2 separate regions of the Homo sapiens genome follow, and region 1 is linked to region 2. Evidence: promoter capture Hi-C in 16 types of primary human blood cells and fetal thymus (Javierre and others, 2016). All regions are on one chromosome and are shown on one strand. The core of a region is centred on a gene start or on the middle of the fragment in contact, and the rest is flanking DNA. Distances in the headings are between cores, read along the strand shown. Region 1 has its middle 12 kb from the start of RNU1-2. Region 2 holds the start of KIAA2013.

The links. The method cuts DNA at HindIII sites, captures the fragments that hold promoters and counts their contacts. A CHiCAGO score of 5 or more calls a contact.
Region 1: a contact is called between a fragment that was not itself captured here and the fragment with the promoter of KIAA2013 in region 2, in 1 of 17 cell types (monocytes). The highest score is 6.4, in monocytes.

Annotation. Positions count from the first base shown.
Region 1 is chr1:16,906,147-16,909,186 of GRCh38, reverse strand. No RefSeq gene overlaps it. Among named protein-coding and RNA genes, the nearest start is that of RNU1-2, 12 kb to the right of the region's middle. The HindIII fragment of the contact is 606 bases long and covers 981-1,586 here.
Region 2 is chr1:11,924,416-11,927,801 of GRCh38, reverse strand. KIAA2013 reads left to right here and starts at 1,375. Exons shown (of 3, transcript NM_138346.3): 1 at 1,375-2,597. The coding sequence starts at 1,565. RefSeq lists enhancers at 1,156-1,450, 1,105-1,768, 1,769-2,431 and a silencer at 1,451-1,520. The HindIII fragment of the contact is 9,969 bases long and covers 1-3,386 here.

The DNA of each region.
Region 1 (3,040 bases), core at 34-2,533, 5.0 Mb before region 2:
CTTAAAGTAAAATGTGCCCAACCTGAGGGTCAAACCTACCTGCTGACATGTAATTTGTGTTTATGAGACATTCTCAACAGCATTTGCTTTCCCTAGCATAGTGGTTTTCATGTTTTCCTCACACCTGAGTGTCTTAAGTGCAAAACCTGTCAGAAATCATTTCCTTTGCCAAAAGATACTTTTTTTTTTTTTGATATCAGTTCACTGCAACTTCCCCTTCCCATGTTCACAGGTTTCTCTTGCCTCAGCCTCTCGAGTAGCTGGGACTACAGGCCGGTGCCAACATACCTGGCTAATTTTTGTATTTTTCGTAGAGACAGAGTTTCGCCATGTTGGCCAGGCTGGTCTCGAACTCCTGACCTCAAGTAAAATGCCCACCTCTGCCTCCCAAAGTGTTGGGATTACAGGTGTAAGCCACCGTGCCCGGCCTGAAATACTCTTACTTTAAGGAAAAGTGCATTAAAAACAAACTTCTCAGTTGCATCTCTGGAATCCATAGAAAGCCAGGGAGAGACAATCAAGTGCTACAGGATCAAGTGCTAAACAGGGGAGGACAAAGCATGGCTTCCTAACTAGGAGTCAGGGCAAAGTTACCTGCTTTGGTTTCCAATGGAGACCGGAACTCGGTTCACCTGCAACAGGAGGACGCGGCCCAGAGGAGGCGGACTTTCTCTTCATGGTGCCTTCAGATAGGAAATCTCCTAGGATTTCTTTCTTTCCCTTTGATCTACTTCCAACGCTCCCTTTCTGTTTCTTCAGATGTTTTTTGGATCCCTAATGCGCAGGACCTAAGGGGCTGGTGCCTTTCCCTACCCTCCCTGCCTGGGTGTCTTCAGCACCCAAGCTCACCCAGAACATTACTGCCTGCCAGAGACAGTGAGGGGACCAAGGAGAGTGGCAGGTGCAGTGGGAACCACAGAGTCACCGTGTACCTGTGCTTTGTAGGCTCCTAGCAAATTGAATAAACGCCCCCTGAAGCTTCTCTGCAGGTCACAGGGAAGGGGAGGGTTGTTGCCCACCCAGTGGGAGAAGCGTCAAAAAGCATCAGGAGTATCTGGCCCTACCCCTGTGCCTGGAAGACAGACCTGGCTAGGCTGATTTTAATGGTTAGGCCCAAGGAAAAGGCCCAAGGGCGGCCCAAACCCCGACCCTGAGATTAAGGCTTTCAAATGTCTGATCGTTTTGATGTTGGTCAGTAGAATCCATCCCACCTTTATCAGGAGACTCCTTTGCCAAAATTCAGAGATCTGGGATTCCTGCTGGTTGCCACAGAGAAAGCCAATCACCGAGATGATTATTGCCAAGGAAGGCGCTTTAATAGGGTGCTGCAGTGGGGGAGATGAGAACTCAGTCTCAAATCCATCTCCCTGACCAACAAAACCAGAGGTTTATATGGCAGGGAAGAAATGTAACAATGTGTAAGAAAACAGGAACTAGGGAGGAGCAAGGAAGCAATCATGATGAATGAGGGGTCCCAGCATCTCATTGTCTGGATGAATTTCAGTTCTTTGATGGCTTTTTTGAGAGGCCTGAAGGTTGTTTCCTGAGGAAGGAACTCAGACGAAACAAATATTAAGTTTCAAGCTTTAAGACCAGCAGGGTCAATTTCTAGGTTTATCCAAAAAAGCTACATATGGGACTACTGGGTGGTTTTCAGACCAAGAAAGAAAAAGACTGTGCAGACCAAAGTCTGCAGTTAACCAAAGAAAAAACATAATTTTCTGACCAATAGGATGTATGGGGCCAGAGAATGACCAGCCTATAGAAGAACTGTTTTTTGTCCTGAGCATAGGGGAAGGATGAAGTTGCACCAACTAAGGTGGAATTAAGCTGCAGATGGGGAAAAATCTGGATTTTGGTTCAGAGCCCTGGGGTCTTCCTCAAAAGTCTCTTTCCTTGAAAGAGGAACCCTGTCTCGGTTTCTGCATCTCTCTGAGTCCTTTTGGAGGTTGAGGATGCTGAGGTCTTGGTGCTTGGCCCCCTCTAACCCTGAGTACTTCCCCTCCTGTGGGGTAACCTGGCCCAGTACCCAGGCCCCAGCTCTGGCGACCATTTCCCCCTACTTTGCTCCTAGCAAAGGCCATTTCTAGGTCAGTCGTGAGGTACAGGCAGAACGGGCAACTTCTTCTGAGATTTTTGGCCCTGGAAGGCCTTGAGCCCTGTGGTCCTGCAGAACTGCTGTCTCCCTCTTTTGGAGAAAGCAGGGAGGAAATGACCTGTGTGGGGGGAATTGTGAGCTGCACCTGCACAGAGGAGCTGAGGCAAGCAGGGCAGTTCTGGTCTGTCAATGTAAAGGACATTTATCATTCAAGAGGTTGGGCTGTTATTATTAATTTTGAATTTTGTCAATACAAACTGAAGGGAAATTTGTCTTCTTACTTGTAGGAACCTCACAAGACCACCCATCTTATATTCCAGGGAGAATTGCTGCGTATTACACAAACTCATAGGTGAGACTGCCGTTCTGACCTGCAGGCCTGGATGCCCTGCACAGGGGCACAGAGCACTGGCAAAGCCCTTCCCATACAAACAGCAAGCATGTTATGTCTACAACCCAACGGCACCAGTTCCAAGTACAATTTCTACTTGGCTGTATGAGCTGAGTACACGTTCCCCCCAGCACAGAAATCCTGCAAACTCCCATGAATGCTATAGTGAAAAGCAGGGGCTGGCCAGGTGTGATGGATCACACCTGTAATCCCAGGACTTTAGAAGGCCAAGGCAGGGCGGATTATTTGAGTCCAGGAGTTGGAGACCAACCTGGGCAACATGGTGAAACTTCAACTCTTAAAAAACAAAACAACCACCACCACAACAAAACCAAGAACAGAAATTAGCTGGCTGTGGTGACTCGTGCCTCTGCTACTCCAGAGGCTGAGGTGGGAGGATCGCTTAAACCAAGATGCTACCAGATAGAGTGAGACTCTGTCTCGGGGAAAAAGACAAACAAAATAAGTCTGTGTAAGAGGTGACTCTGGGGACAGTGGAAAAACACTAAGGTTTTCAAGTGGTGGTAAAAGCCAGTAGGCCTTGGGGACCA
Region 2 (3,386 bases), core at 126-2,625:
AGTGCAGTGGCGCGATCTCGGCTCACTGCAACCTCTGCCTCCCTGGTTCAAGCGATTCTCGTGCCTCAGTCTCTCAAGTAGCTGGGATTACAGGCGCCCACCACCACGCCCAGCTAATTTTTGCATTTTTATTTTTTTATTTTTATTTATTTATTTTTTTTTTTTTGAGACAGAGTCTCCCTCTGTCACCCAGGCTGGAGTGCAGTGGCGCGATCTTGGCTCACTGCAAGCACCGCCTCCCGGGTTCACGCCATTCTCCTGCCTCAGCCTCCCGAGTAGCTGGGACTACAGGCGCCTGCCACCACGCCTGGCTAATTTTTTATATTTTTAGTAGAGACAGGGTTTCACCGTGTTAGCCAGGATGGTCTCGATCTCCTGATCTCGTGATCTGGCGGCCTCGGCCTCCCAAAATGCTGGGATTACAGGCGTGAGCCACCGTGCCCAGCCTAATTTTTGTATTTTTAGTAGAGACAGGTTTTCACCATGTTGGTCAGGCTGGTTTCGAACTCCTGACCTCAAGTGATTTGCCCATCTCAGCCTCCTAAAGTGCTGGAATTACAGACGTGAGCCACCACTCCTGGCCTCTGGTGGTTCCCCTTCCCCTCCTCCTCCCTTTTCCTTTCTTCTTCTTTCTTCCTCTTCTTCTCTCTCCTTTTTTTTTCCTCCACTTTTTCGTATTGTTCCAAGTGTTTTTTTGCAGTGAGGATAGTCTTTTTTTTTTTTTTTTTTTTTGAGACAGAGTCTCACTCTGTCGCCCAGGCTGGAGTGCAGTGGCGTGATCTCGGCTCACTGCAAGCCTGCAACCTCCGCCTCACGGGTTCAAGCAGTTCTCCTACCTCAGCCTCCTGAGGAGCAGGGATTACAGGCATGCGCCACCACGCCCGGCTAGTTTTTGTATTTTTAGTAGAGATGGGGTTTCACCATGTTGGTCAGGCTGGTCTCAAACTGCTGACCTCGTGATCCGCCCGCCTTGGCCTCCCAAAGTGCTGGGATTACAGGCGTGAGCCACCGCGCGCGGCGAGAGGATGGTCATTTTTACAGAAACAAAGTTGTTGTGTGTGTGTGTGTGTATGTTTTTAAATTTTGGGGCTGTTGAATCCATCAGTAGCAAAGGGGCCCAACACGTGTTCGGTTTGGCTGGCTCGATGTTTTTTTCACGAGTGAATTGGATGCTTCCAGTCCTCCCCAGACCCCTGCACTTAACTCCACTGGACTTCACTCTTCCGGCCTGGGAACGAGTGGTCCCGCCCCCGGCAGCTTTTGTCCCGCCCTCGCCGTGGCTCCGCCCCCTTCTCTCCGGCCTGCTCTCTCTCCTCCCTCCGCCCTCCCGTTTTCCATCTGTCGTAAAAGACACGGCGACGCTTGACCGCCGGCGTCGTTTGACGGCTGGAGGCCACCGAGAAGAAGGAGGAAGCAGGGGTGGCGGCTGCTGCGGCGGTTGCGGCGGGGGCCGGGGTGGGCGCCGCGGTCCGGGCCGGGCAGTGAGGCGCGGGCGGCCGGGCCGGTGGGCTGGGCGGCGGGCCCGGCGGCCGCCCTCGCACCCTTGCCCGCGCCTGGCGGCCCGATGTGGCTGCAGCAGCGGCTCAAGGGGCTGCCGGGACTGCTGTCGAGCAGCTGGGCCCGCCGCCTCCTCTGCCTGCTTGGCCTCCTGCTGCTGCTTCTGTGGTTTGGGGGGTCCGGCGCGCGGCGGGCGGCGGGCGGCCTGCACCTGCTGCCCTGGTCCCGCGGTGAGCCGGGCGCCGCCGAGCCGTCTGCCTGCCTGGAGGCGGCCACCCGCGCCTGGCGCGGCCTGCGGGAGCGCGGTGAGGTGGTACCGCTGGGTCCTGGAGTGCCGGCCCTGGTGGCCAACGGCTTCCTGGCCCTGGACGTGGCTGCCAATCGGCTGTGGGTGACTCCCGGGGAGCGGGAGCCCGCCGTGGCGCCGGACTTTGTGCCCTTCGTGCAGCTGCGCCCGCTGAGCGCGCTGGCTGAAGCTGGAGAGGCGGTGCTGCTGCTGCGGGAGGGGCTTCTGCGCCGCGTGCGTTGCCTGCAGCTGGGGTCCCCAGGTCCTGGCCCCGTGGCCGCCGGCCCCGGGCCCGCCTCCGTCTCTGGCCTTGCCGCGGGGTCCGGCCGCGACTGCGTGCTGCTGCAAGAGGACTTTCTGGCGCACAGGGGCCGACCCCACGTCTACCTGCAGCGCATCCAGCTCAACAACCCCACGGAGCGCGTGGCCGCGCTGCAGACTGTGGGGCCCACTGCCGGCCCAGCCCCCAAGGCCTTCACCAGTACCCTGGAGAAGGTCGGAGACCATCAGTTCCTCCTCTACTCAGGCCGGTCCCCGCCTACGCCCACTGGGTTGGTGCACCTGGTGGTGGTGGCCGCCAAGAAGCTGGTGAACCGCCTCCAAGTGGCTCCCAAGACGCAGCTGGATGAGACGGTGCTGTGGGTGGTGCACGTCTCTGGCCCCATTAACCCCCAGGTGCTCAAAAGCAAAGCAGCCAAGGAGCTCAAGGCGCTGCAGGACTTGGCACGGAAGGAAATGCTGGAGCTCTTGGACATGCCAGCGGCGGAGCTGCTTCAAGACCACCAGCTCCTCTGGGCTCAGCTCTTCAGCCCAGGTGAGTCCTGGCCAGCGCTTGGTCCACCCTAGATATGTCCCTCCCAAGTCTGCAGAGGTGACACTGAAGGTGATGGTGGGGTGGTTGAAACTTGGGCTTGGCGTTTCACCAGTGGTTGAATCTGCTCAACTGCTTAGTGTCTGTGCGACCTTTGGATTCGTCGCCTAATCTCTCTGGGCCTGTATTTAATAACAATAACGCCTACCTCAGAAGGTTTTTATGAGACTGTAGTGGACAATTGAGTGTAAAGGTCAATTCTTTCTGTTACTTGTTTTGGTAGATGGGGCCTGATGTGAGCAGAGTGAAGTGTTTTAGAGTCAGTTTGCAGAGGTGAAACCAGCAGGTGGATCCCCTGATTCTTTGCTCAGCACCGCAGTCGGCCTGGTGACAGACGTGGGCTTCTTGACATAACCCCTGCTAGGCTGAGGTGCGTCCTGGCAGTTGTGGCTGCAACTGGTTCACAGGGAGGTTGGAGAATCCCTTTTAGCAGGTTGAGATGCTCCCGCCCGATGAAAACTCTCCTCTCGTTGACTGTTAAAGAAAAGAAAATCCTGTTCTGGATGAGAGAGGGGTTTTGGTTTCCAGGGTTCCAATTGTCTGAACCTTTGTGTTTGGTTGCTCAGAGAGTTGAGTTCATTCAGCAAGTATCTATTGAATGCTTCTGCCAGGGCTGTTCTATGCATGGGGGGGTGCAGATGGGAACCAGAGTTCCTGTTCTCATGGTGCTTGCTTAAATTCTGGTTGGGAGGAAGACAGACATTAGAAAAGTGAAAATTAAAATTAAAATAA